Regions from separate parts of the Homo sapiens genome. Here regions 1 and 3 are each linked to region 2. The links are contacts of gene promoters, found by promoter capture Hi-C in blood cells and fetal thymus (Javierre and others, 2016). All regions are on one chromosome and are shown on one strand. Each heading gives the region's core, a stretch centred on a gene start or on the middle of the fragment in contact. The rest is flanking DNA. Distances are from core to core; before and after follow the strand shown.

Region 1 (3,982 bases), core at 1,271-3,770, 270 kb after region 2:
GCCCCCCACATGCCACAAAGTTCCCTGATGGGGCATAGGCACAGGTCATGACCCAGGAGGAGCGCAGTGGGATGGCGTGCACCTGCAGGGAGGGTGGTTTGAGCAGAGATGGGACCGGAGCCAAGCTCCCAGCTGGGCACAGGAGGGTAGGCATGGCGCCCTTAGGAAGGATGCAGTGGTGGAGGCTCAGGGAGGCAGGGCTGGTACCTTGTTGGTGGTGTAGCTGTCCCACACGATCAGCTTCCCATCTTGCGAGGCACTTACCAGCAGCCTGGGGAGAGGGCATCCCATATCATGCAAGCCTCCCCTTCCCGCCTTCCTCACTCCCGCTCTCACCCTCCCATTCTCGGTTCCCCCCCAAGCCTCACTTAGAATCAGTGGCCCAGTGCATGGCGTAAATCTTGGCCAGGTGTCCCCTTAACGTCCGCCGCGTCCGCATCTGGACTCGTCCCACCACCTCTAGGCCAGACACCAGCTGCAGAGAGAGGGGCACTGAATATCAGGGTGAGCAGGTTACGTGCCCAGATGTCTGTCACTGCCACTGATCTATACAAGTTCCCGCTCTGTGCCAGGCTCTAGGTCAGGCCCCCAGCCTTAGAGAAATAAGTCTCTGCCCTGGAGTGTCTTAGACTGATGTGGGAAAGAGATGCATGCATGGCCAGAGGTGTGTTGCTTGTAAGTGTTTAACAAGCACCTCTCCAGTGTTGGTGAGGAAGGTGGGAAGGTGATTTCCACGATACGAATACTTGCACTTTGACCAGTTTCCAGCTGCCAATGTGAGGTCATTGGAAACAGATTTGGGAAGAGATGCACAGAGCTGGCTCTCCCAAGCCGAGAGGAGCCTGCTTGCACCCACCGCTGCAGCACGGCTAGCTTTTTAACTGGGTGCCTGGGGCATCACCATGACCCTGAACTGTACCTCCTGAAATCTGTGGTACTATGCCCCTTGAGCTCTAACCACATTTTAGACTTAGGCTGGGGGTCCAGAGTGAACAGACTTGATTTGCCATCACTTGCATTGCTATCTTTTTTTAAAAAGTTAAAAGCAATTTTTTTTATATTAAGAAGAGATCTCACTATGTTGCCCAGGCTGGTCTCAAACTCCTGAGCTCAAGTGATCCTTTCACGTCAGTCTCCCAAAGGGCTGGGATTACAGGCGTGAACCACTGCGCCCGGCCTGCTTTGTTATCTTGGGCAAGTTGCTTCACCTCCCTGAGTCTGTTTACTCAAGGTGTAAAATGAGGCTTATCATAGCACCTACCTTACAGAGATATCATGAAAATTCAATGAAATCAGGTATTTATGCAGCTTAGCCCAGTATCTGGCTCATAAAAAGTGTTCACTATTAACATATTTAATCCAATCTAAGATGCATCACTAAGAAAGAAAAGATGCTGTCAATTCTAATTGAAACAATGATCCATTGCTGAATGCACCTTGATTTCAGAGATGTCAAAATGTGAAGAAATGTGCATCTTAGAATTGACAAAATACAGCATAGAAAACTAGCAGCTAGAGTCTACAAGGGCTTTATAATTTACAAAGTACTATCGCTTCTTCATCTTCAAGGCCCTGGGAGGGGGCTGTGGTCACTCTTGTTCTACGGATGAGAATAGGAACCGTGTCCGCATCTTTCGCATCCAATATGGTGCCTGGCTCAGAGCAGGTCCCGCTAAAATGTTGGTCGAATGAATTAATTAATGGGTTTCCTCACTCCAAGGACGTGCTGTACTAATGCTCGGAGCAACGCGCTATTGCGGGTCGGGGAGCTCCCTTCCCCTCCCCCCATGCCCTGCCTTCCGGGGGACAGGGGGTCTTACCTCTGCCAGAGTAACGTCAGCACAGGCTTTCCTGGCATCCTGCAGGGAAAGCAGACATCAGGGGAGCAAGGGCGAGGTGGGGGTGGCAGGTGCATGGGCCTTCAGGGCAGGTTGGTCTTGGGGCTCTGGGGCTTGGGGGTCTCAAATATGCGAACCAAGTTTAGAAAGTCCCTGGTCACTTCTAGTCACTCAAGAGCAAACCCAGCCCCCTCCCCCTGGGCCACGCTCCTCATGTCCCCAGCTGTTTTCTGGGGCCCCAGGGGTAGGGCTCTGGAGTTACTGCAATCTGCTTCTTGAGCTGCTCCGCTTCCTGACGCAGTTGCTCCATCTCCCCCATGGCTGACAGGTCGAGGGGTCACTCTGGCTCCTGCCAGGAACATGGGGTCGGTGTTGAGGAACCCCCCACCAGGCTGTGCTTCTGCCCTTCGTGCCCACACCAGACTCCAAGACACAGGGAAACGACTGGGTGGCTGCACCCTCTCCCCAGCTAGGCCCTCCAAGTTTGAGGTCCTTTGCGTCCAGCCCCAGCCTGCCTGAGCCCTGCCTGCGCCCCAGCCCAGGAGAGCAGAGCCCAGGCCAGCTCCCTCTTACTTGGGCTCTGGCTGGACCTCGGCCGGGTTTCCAGCTCCGGTTCCTGGGAGCCTCCTTACTCCCTCAGCTGCGACGCCCGCGCCCGCCCGTCACCTGCCCAGGCTCTGCTGCCAGAGGAGCTGGCCTGGCCTGGCCTGGCCCCGACCGGCGGGGGGTTGGGGGGGCCTGACAGGGAAGGGTAGAGCCAACCACAACGTCAGGCAAATGAAATCAGCTGGCAGGGGTGGGGGGAAGGGGTGGGGGGAGGGAGGGAGGTGTACGGATTCCAGAGAGACTTGGGCCCAGCCGGGAGGAGGGTTGGGGGCAGGAGTGTGGGGCCATAGAGAGGGGCAGCCCCCACCACAAGCCCTGAGAGAGGAGGGGGTGAAGGGGTGCTTCCCTGGTCAGTCTCTGCAGGCAGAGATAAGAGCATCAGGCCCCACAGGATTAGAGCAAAGCTGTGAGGATTAAGGGTTGGGGTTTGGGAGGGGTGCAAAGGAGCAGACAACTACAGCTCCAGTGGCCCCCCTGGTCCCGGCCCCCATCCATGGTGATGATCTTGGCAGTCAGGGCCACTTAGCAACCAGGCCAGGAGGTGGGATATAAGGGTGATAGATGGCCCCATTGTCAGTACCTCAAACTGTGCTCCTCAGCTCAGGGTGGTGGGGAAGAGGGTTTGGTGAGTATGGGAGGGTACAGGCAGGAGCTGAGATTAGAAAGGACTGATCTGGATAATCCTTCTTCTCGACAAACCCCAACCAGCTGCCTCTGGGTCTGATCCTGTTGGGGGAGAAAGGTACAGGGGACCCACAGAGAAGGATGGACAGGTCTGCCCCTATTGTGGGCGGGCAACGGATTTCAAGTGGAGGGAAGGCCCGCACGCTGCTCCCAGGCTGGGGTCTGGCCCCCTCCTTGCCCTCTCGAGGCTGTGAAAGCAGGGGTCAGAGAGAAAGCAGGCGGCCCTAAGTCTCAGCAAAGCTCAGAGAGGGAAGACAGGGCTTACACTTGGAGGCCTAAGGAGCAGCTGCCAGGGGCTTGGGTCATTTGCATGAGGGGAGCAGGTGGCTGAGATTTCCCTGACAAATCACAGGCTCCAGGCGCCCCGCCTCTGGGAGGCCCAAAGACACCTGTCTCCTCCCAGGCCAGCCAGAGCCACCCCCACCTCCAGCCATCACAGAATCTGTGATACACTTGACTGGCCCCTGGCTGAGAGATCTTCACGACCTTTATTGCACAGACTGGGAGAGAGGAGCAGGGTTATACCTCCCAACCCCACCATCCTCTTCATTTAAAGCATCAGCCTCCTCCCCTGCCATTTCTGTTCAGGGAGGCACAGTGTTCCCCATCTGTCCAGGGCTGCAGGTCCGGCAGCGGGGCCCCGTCCCAGCTCCCCAGGCCTGGTGAGCTCCAGGCTAGCCTGTGCACTGTCCTCTGAGTCCAGGCCCTTGTAGGTCCCCAAGATGGTGGGGGTGCAGGGACAGAGAGCTTGCTGTTCTGCTCCTGATGTCACACAGGGGCTTCCTGTGTGTCCTGGCATCAAGATGGCCTTCCACAAGTCAAGTGGCCACATCCTCAAGGAGCTGGCTCAGCCA
Region 2 (4,254 bases), core at 1,082-3,581:
TTATGCAGAAGCCATCAGGTTGTGCCATATCTAAAGCCTGGAAAAAGGAGGATACCAGCTGATAGGATTTGGCTCTATGTCCCCAACCAAATCTCATGTGGAATTGTAATCCCCACGTGTTGGAGGAGGGGCCTGGTGAGAGGTGATTGGATCATGGGGGCAGTTTCTAATGGTTTAGTGCCATCCCCCTAGTGCTGTCTCCCGATGGAATTCTCATGAGATCTGGTTGTTTAAAAGTGTGTAGACTTCTCCCTTCTTCTCTTTCTCCTGCTGCCATGTGAAGAAGGTCCTTGCTTCCCCTTCGCCTTCTGCCATGATTATAAGCTTCCTGAGGCCTCCCAGTCATGCTTCCTGTTAAGCCCGCAGAACTGTGAGTCAATTAAACTTCTTCTCTTCATGAATTCCCCAGTCTCAGGTAGTTCTGTACAGCAGTGTGAGAATGGACGAATACAGCAGCGAAGGTGGTACAAGGGCTTTCTGTTCCACTGTGCTCTTCCTGAGTCAGAACCTTTGGGCAGTCCCCAGCCTGCCACCTAGGGACTTCTGCTGCCACCCAGGAGAAGCAGAATGCCCACCAGGCCCAGATCTGCTACCACTTCCAGAAGCCCTGTTACTAAATGATAGGCCCCAGGTGAGGACCAGCCAGGCCCTCTCCAGGGCAGGATCCTTCTCCTTCTACTCACAGAGCTGCTCTCTACAACCAGGTACCAACAGTGAGGAGGCGGTCACGTGGCAATGATCAGGCTTCTCACTAGAGAATAGTAAATGGGGCAGGGCCGTGTTCAGACCCTCAAACTCTACCCAACCCCATCTCCCAGATGCACCTGTCTACCACCTGCTTCTCTTCCTCCCTGCACACCTTGAAAACTCCAAAACCTGGTGCATACTCCCCACTCTGCCCCATCCCAAGAACTCACCCACAGACGCAGGTGGACACCTAGATGTGCTGAGTCCTAGGGCTGCCACAGCCTGCAGGACAAAATTCCTCCCTCAAGGAACCCACAGCCCTGTGGGAAAGACAGACACACGGGCAGGAGGTTATCATGCATCAAGAGTCCATGAGCACAGGGAAAGTCATTTTCTCTGAGTCAAAGAGGGCTTCCCAGAGGAGAGGACACGGGGAGAGAGGTGAGTAAAAATGGCCGGCATCCAGGGCATGAGTACTACATGCCGAACGCTGACTCTTCTCAGGAACCCAAGCACAGGTTATTGTCCCCATTCTACAGATAAGAAAACTAAGGAACAGAGAATTTTAAGTAATTTGCCAAAGGTTATACATGAAATAAAAGACAGAGATGGGATTTGAACCCAAACAGATTGGAGCCTGACCACCCAACCCTCAGTTTCTCCACCTCGCCCCTATTGACGTTCAGGACCAGGTAACATTTTGTTGTGGGACCTGCTGCCTTGTGCACTAGGATGCTTACCAGCATCACTGGCCTGTATCCACTAAATGCCAGTAATGGAAAAAAGAAATCTCTAGATATCATCAAATATCCCCTGGGGAGCAAAACTGCTCCTTGTTGAGTACCACTGATCTAACCATTTTGCTATTCTATTCTGCTTCCTAAGCAAGTAATGATATTTATTGTTTGCCAAATGACAGACACTGCCCTAAGCAATTCTGGTTATTAACTCATTTAACCCTCACACCAACCCTCTGGTGTGGGTACCGTTGTCCTCATCCTTGTTCTTCAGATGAGGATGTTAAGAGGCACAGAGAAATTATGTAAGCTGGCCTTGGTCACCAAACTTTTAAATGGTAGAGCCTGGGTTTAAACCTGGTGAGTGTGGCACACAAGCCCACTCCTTTAAGCAGCATGTTATGCTGATGACTGAAGAACACGGCATTGGTCGGGGAGTCACACATGCAAACGCAAGGCATGTTTGTGAAGCCATAGCATCATGACCGCGCCTGGAACACACATGCGAGGCGGCAGCGGTGGAGAGCGAAGCCAGAAAGTCATGCAGAGCCTGATTATGAAGGAAGAACCTGACGAGACAAACAAGTGGCTGGGGCTTCATCTCATGGATCAGGAGGCACAGTCATTGAAAAGTTTTAACCTGGGAAGGGGCACGATTGATTGAGATTTTAGATACTGGCAGAGTAGGGAGGATGGGCTTAAGGGCTAAACCTAGTGGCTGACACTCCATTGGGGTTGAGCTAGCGACTGCCTAGGTGTCCATAAGGCATGGAAGTCAAGGCCCTGACATGAAAGCCTGAGATAACTTGGGGGTGGAGGAGTGTGACCCATTAGGGTCACCCCTCTGCCCTGGGCTGTCCACATCTCCACTGGCCATGCCAGACAGAAGCAAAGGGTCCCAGTCTGGCTGACTCAGCCGCCTCATCACCCCTGCTGCTCTTCACCTCGCTCCTGTATCTCCCTCCTCACCTGGCACTGGGCACAAAAGCCCCCACGTGTCCCAGCCCAGGGCAAGGTATCTAGAGATAAGACAGGGAAGCTGTGGACAGAAATGGCTCGTGCTGCCCCAGACTCCTCTGCCTGGGCTCTCCTGTGGCTGTTTGGATTCCAGGAGAGGGCAAGCTCCTCTCTAAATGCTGGGGGCTCATGAAGGCTGCAGAGAAACTCCCTGGCCAGGAAGCCCCAAGGCACTTTCTGTTGTCCTGCCCTTCCCCTTTCAGGACAGAAGGGGGCAGCACCAACACGATTTTCAAAAATAAAACCAAAAATAAAGTCACTGGAGCACCCCAACCTTGTTTGCCCAGCTAAGATTGGAAAGACCCATGCCTGGCCTAAGTTTATATGCAAGGACAAAAACTTCTTCATTAATCATGTGGATTAAAGATGCCGATTAAAGGATCCATCCCCTCATTCTCTAATCCTGTCTGGCTCAGAAAGGACCATCTGGTCACAATTATAATTTCAGATACATTTATTTTGTAACTATCAAAGTTATTAAATAATATTAAAGAAGTTTTACTAAACAGAGAAACATGGTTTAAATCATCCACAACCCCATACTCTAATAGGAAGCAGTTATTTTAGATTTTTCTCACGGGTGCTTTCTATATTTGTAAACATAGTATCCTTACAATTTGGTAGCTTGCTACCTTTACTTAGCATGCCAGGAATCCCAGCTCCCTTACCTGCACTTGGGGGCCTTAACATAGAGCAGAGGTGGCCTATGCTCTTTAGGGACACTTGGGTAAGGGAAAGGGAACTGAAGTAAATGATTGAAGTGTTAGCAATAAGGTGACCAACTGTCCTGGCGTGTCGGGGAACTTAACTGGTTTTAGTGTTGAAAACCTCATGTCCTAGGAAAACCTCATTTCTAGACAGACCAGGATGATTTCTAATAGGTTACCCTATTAGAAAAAAGTCCCCCCAAATTCAGACATCCATTTTCATTTCTACATCGGCCTTTCAGCTATACTTCTTTGCTTTTTTCTACTAGTAGTCACCCTAGGGCAACTGTTCTCAAACTTTATACCCTTAAAAAATTATTGAGAACTCCAGAGAGCTTTGGCTTATGTAGGGTATATCTATTAATAGTCACTGTACTAGAAATCAAAATTGAGAACATTTTAAATCACAAAGATACACAAGCACGCATCCCGCTCACTGCCACGGATGAATCATTGCACATCACGTAGCCTCTGTAAATCCACCATATACCATGACAGAATGAGAGGGAAAAAAGCAAAGAACATCTGAGTATTTTTATGAAAGTCATTTTGTTACCTCACAGACCCCGTGAAAGGATCTTAGGGCCTGTGGGTCTTCCCACACCACAGGGTGGAGACCCGCTGCTCTGGGAATTAGTCTGCATCCTAAACTCCAGTTTTCTCAGTTCCTATTGTACCACTTCATGTGAAATGAAGGAAACTTGTAACCATGAGTCCACCCCCTTGTCCTCTATACCAGCAGTCCCCACCCTTTTTGGCACAAGGGACTGGCTTCATGGAAAACGGTTTTTCCACAAACCAGGGATGGGGCCAGAGGGAGATGGTTTCAGGATAGTTCAAACACATTACATTCATTGCATGTTTTCTTTCTATTATTATTGTTATTGTAATATATAATGAAATATTAATAATTATACAACTCACCGTAATGTAGAATCAGTGGGAGCCCTGAGCTTGTTTTCTTGCAACTAGACGGTCCCATCTAGGGGTGATAGGAGACAGTGACAGGTCACCAGGCATTAGATTCTCATAAGGAGCACACAGCCTAGATCCCTCCATGCATAGTTCACAATAGGGTTCGTGCCCCTATGAGAATCTAATGCTGC
Region 3 (3,730 bases), core at 88-2,587, 410 kb after region 2:
GTAGTTGTGAAGCCTCAGGATGGGGATCACTGGGAGAAAAATGGATTGGGGGTGGGGGAATTCAAGACATCTATTTTAGTCAAGTTAGCTTTGCATGGCTATTAGACATCCAAGTGGAGATGTCAAGTAGGCTGTCGGATAAATGAGTCTGGCGCTCTGGATATAAATTTAGGACTCACTGACATTTACATAGTATTTAAGCCCTGGGACCGGATGAGATCACTGGACAGAGAATGTGGAAAGAGAGAATGGCCAAGGACTAAGCCCTAGGAGGCTCCAACATTTAGAGGTCACCCGAGGAAGACTAAGAACAGTCAGTGAGGTTGGAGGGAAATGAGGAGAGTGTGGTGTCCTGGAAGTGCCCTGAGGAAAAACAGCGTAGTGTGGTAGAGAGGGATGGGATCCAGGTGGTGGGAGAAGGGGCAGGAGAGGCTACTTTTGATAGAGACATTAGGGAAGGCCTCCCAGAAGGCGTTGGATCTAAGTGAGACTGGAATGAAAACAGTAAGTCATTGTGAAAAGCCAGGGAAATGTATTACTGAGGGAACAGCAAGTGCAAAGGCCCTGAGGCAGGTTAAACCTGTCTCCAACCAGGAAATCCACCAGGTCCCATGTGGCTGAAGCATAGAAATCTTTAGGAAAGGCAATCAGAGAGCCACCTAAGAGCCAGGTTATATAGGGTCTTGTAAGTCACAGCACGGAGTCTAGGTATTCCAGTGCTGGAAAAGCCCAGGAATTTCGACGTGATCCACTTAATGCATGGTAGCAGGGCCAGAGTGAAATAGGGGATCAAGCTGTGGGGATAATCCAAAGATGGTGCAAGGTCCTTCCTCCCCAGTCCTTTCCTCCACCCCTTGCCCCCAGCCTTGACCTCAGGCACTTTCTACAGCGGGCAAAACCAAGTTGGGGGACAGGCAGTGGTGACTCACGCCTGTAATCCCAGCACTCCGGGAAGCTGAGCGGGAAGGATCGCTTGAGCCCAGGCGTTCGAGACCGGGCTGGGCAACACAGCGAGACCTCATCTCTACAAAACACAATACAAAAGAACAAAGTTGGGAATGCAGAGCATTGAGTGACTCAGAATCTCAGAAACTGACTGAGGCGACCATGGGTGTCCCTGGAGTTGGGGTGAAGGAGGTGGGGAGACTGCCATCAGAACCCAGGGAAGCGGACGGTCGCTGGACCCTGCCAGCCTCTTCAGCCCTCCACCTGGGACATAGCCTGGCTTGACTCCTGCAGCGCGGCAGCAGGAGGGTTAAACCGTGCGTGGCCTCCGGCGCGGGGGGGAGGCGGAGACGGAGACGGAGCGGTCCCAGCCGCCGCGCCGAGCCCAGCCGAGCCGAGCCGAGCCGAGCCGAGGCGAGCATCTCCCACCGCCGCCGCCCCGCGCCCCAGGCGCCCGCCCCCCACCCGCTCCAGCGCCCTGCCGCGGGCCAAACCTCCCCACCATGCCCCGCACCCCGCCCGCTCCTGCGACCCCCCAGCCCCGCTCAGTCCCGAGCGCCCGCAGTCGTCGCGCCGCCGCGCCAAGCATGCAGGTGAGTGAGAGGGACCCCCACGCCCCCACCCGCGGGGAGCCCGGCCCTGCCCTTCCCGGCTCCGCGCCCTGCGCCTCCTGCCCCTCCCGACGCGGTCCCTCGCCCGGGACAAGGCCTCCAGCCTCCCAGCGCCCCTTCCCCGAAGGGCTCTCCATCCCTCCGCGGTCCTGGCTCGCTCCCGCCCTCCCTGGCGCAGCCGTCCCCGTCCCCGCGGCTGCCTCCATCCCGCCTCGGCTCGGCGGGCGGCTCCGCGCAGTCTCCTGCTTCGGGTCCCCAGTCCGCTCTCGGCACTCCCTGCCTCGGGGTCCCTTCGCCGACCTCCTTTTCCTCGTCTCCCCCCACTCTCGCCGCTCTCCAGCCCTGTGCGGGGAGTGCGGGCCTGCGGGATGGGTGGGATGGGGGCCACGCTGGGGCTGGGGCCCGGCTCCCGCACCCCGAGGCTCCTGCCCCACCCCCAGCTCGTCTCCTGCGCACAACAGGTCGGTGAGAAGCTGGGAGAGGGGTGGGGGTGGCGCGCCAGCCCGGGGACTGCGGGCTTCCTGGAGGGGGCGGCTGAAGCTGTGCGGGGCCCAGGGACTGGGTTGGCGCTGGCTGGGGGTGGGGATGCACAGGCGGAGGGGCGATAGTCCTAGAGTCAGCTGGCCACAGATGCGCCCTGGGAGCCCTTCTCCGCTTCACTGGTTCGCTCTACACGCCTCGCTCCCTCCCTCTAGCTTTCTTCCTTTCCCCTCTCTCTCCCTTCTTCCCACCATGCCCCCATCCCTATGTCTTTCGGTATCTCCACATCCCTTTACATTTGGGGGAGCAATTCCGAACTCCTCCATCTTTGCTGCTCCCGCCTCTGCTTCCCAGCCCGTTCCTCGTGTCATTTTTCCTTAAGCATTTATGTTCTCTCCTTCCCCACTTCCTTTCTCCCCATCCTGGGCTTTCCCCCCTTTTCTCCCATCCCCTTACTCTCCACTCCTCTGGCTGTCCTGCCTGGACCGCTCTCTCCTTCTCCTCCTGCCCCTTCTTCCCCTGCACCTGTGACCCCTTCATCCTCTCCGTTTCCCCTCCCTGACCTTTTCTCTCATCCTTTCCTCCCTTCGGCATCCTCCACAGTTCGAGTCTTCTGTACCCACTCTCCTCCTCTCTTCCCAGTTCTCTCTTTTTCAGGACTGCCTGCTCTCTCTCACCCTGCACTCCAGGCCAGCTTCCTCTTCACATTTCTCCTCTCTCACTCTTAACCAGCCTTCCATCTCCCAGCCCTTCACCCCTTCCCATCTCTCCCACTGCCTGCTTCCCCACGCCCTTCCCGTGACTTTCCCATCTTGTTCCCTTGTTGTTCTCTGGGAAGATTCAATGGGCAGATTTATTTATTTTATTTTTTGAGTCGGAGTCTCGCTCTTGTTGCCCAGACTGGAGTGCAATGGTGTGATCTCAGCTCACTGCAACCTCCGCCTCCCAGGTTCAAGGGATTCTTCTGCCTCAGCCCTCTGAATAGCTGGGATTGCAGGCGCCCACCACTACCCCCGGCTAATTTTTGTATTTTTAGTAGACACGGGGTTTCACTATGTTGGCCAAGCTAGTCTCGAACTCCTGATCTCAGGTGATCCACCCGCCTTGGCTTCCCAAAGTGCTAGGATTACAGGCGTGAGCCACTGCGTCTGGCCCATTGGGCAGATTTAGACCCAGAATCCACAGGAAACGGGTATCCTATCTTCACTCCCTCTGGGGAGCCTGCCCCTCCTGGATCCACCACCCTCAGCTCTGAGAACACACCCTTTCTCTTTCAAAACCAACCATCCCGATTTTCCCAGGATTCTTTACCCAGGAGAGCCACATTTGAGGGGGTGGTTTCTTCCTGACTCCACCTCCCTTCAGAGGGCACCTATGCACTTGGATGATTAAACATTAAGAGCAAAAATTATATTCTGTAGTTTTTCTCCCACTCACCTCTCTCTTTCTGTCTCTTTCCTTCCATCCCTCCAGCTCTTCATTCCTTTCTCCTGAAGATGCAGACTCCTGGGGCTAATCATAAGACAAATGCCTGGCACTGCCAGAGGGGTGGGAGGGCTGGGAGGGCTGGAAGGGCCCCCCTGCACGTACACACACTCACTGGCTTGCTCAGATTGACTTCCCCATCCCTCCCCCTACCCTCAGACTCCCTCCCTAGCGGTAGGTGCTCAAGGAATCACAAGGTTCTTGGCTCT

The links. The method cuts DNA at HindIII sites, captures the fragments that hold promoters and counts their contacts. A CHiCAGO score of 5 or more calls a contact.
Region 1: a contact is called between the fragment with the promoter of GNB3 here and a fragment that was not itself captured in region 2, in 5 of 17 cell types (non-activated CD4 T cells, activated CD4 T cells, naive CD8 T cells and 2 more). The highest score is 8.8, in non-activated CD4 T cells.
Region 3: a contact is called between the fragment with the promoter of PIANP here and a fragment that was not itself captured in region 2, in 2 of 17 cell types (non-activated CD4 T cells and naive B cells). The highest score is 6.0, in non-activated CD4 T cells.

Annotation. Positions count from the first base shown.
Region 1 is chr12:6,839,463-6,843,444 of GRCh38, reverse strand. GNB3 (G protein subunit beta 3) reads right to left here and starts at 2,520. Exons shown (of 10, transcript NM_002075.4): 1 at 2,412-2,520; 2 at 2,101-2,187; 3 at 1,821-1,859; 4 at 369-475; 5 at 208-271; 6 at 1-82. The coding sequence starts at 2,157. It overlaps P3H3 (prolyl 3-hydroxylase 3), which reads right to left. Exons shown (of 15, transcript NM_014262.5): 15 at 3,598-3,982. The HindIII fragment of the contact is 12,557 bases long and covers 1-3,982 here.
Region 2 is chr12:7,111,883-7,116,136 of GRCh38, reverse strand. C1RL-AS1 (C1RL antisense RNA 1) reads right to left here. Exons shown (of 12, transcript NR_026947.1): 6 at 4,073-4,130; 7 at 918-1,007; 8 at 1-751. It also overlaps a transcript of RBP5 not described here. Among named protein-coding and RNA genes, the nearest start is that of C1RL, 4.8 kb to the right of the region's middle. RefSeq lists an enhancer at 2,369-2,870. The HindIII fragment of the contact is 4,009 bases long and covers 327-4,254 here.
Region 3 is chr12:6,698,422-6,702,151 of GRCh38, reverse strand. PIANP (PILR alpha associated neural protein) reads left to right here and starts at 1,337. Exons shown (of 5, transcript NM_001244014.2): 1 at 1,337-1,538. RefSeq lists an enhancer at 2,056-2,557. The HindIII fragment of the contact is 12,862 bases long and covers 1-3,730 here.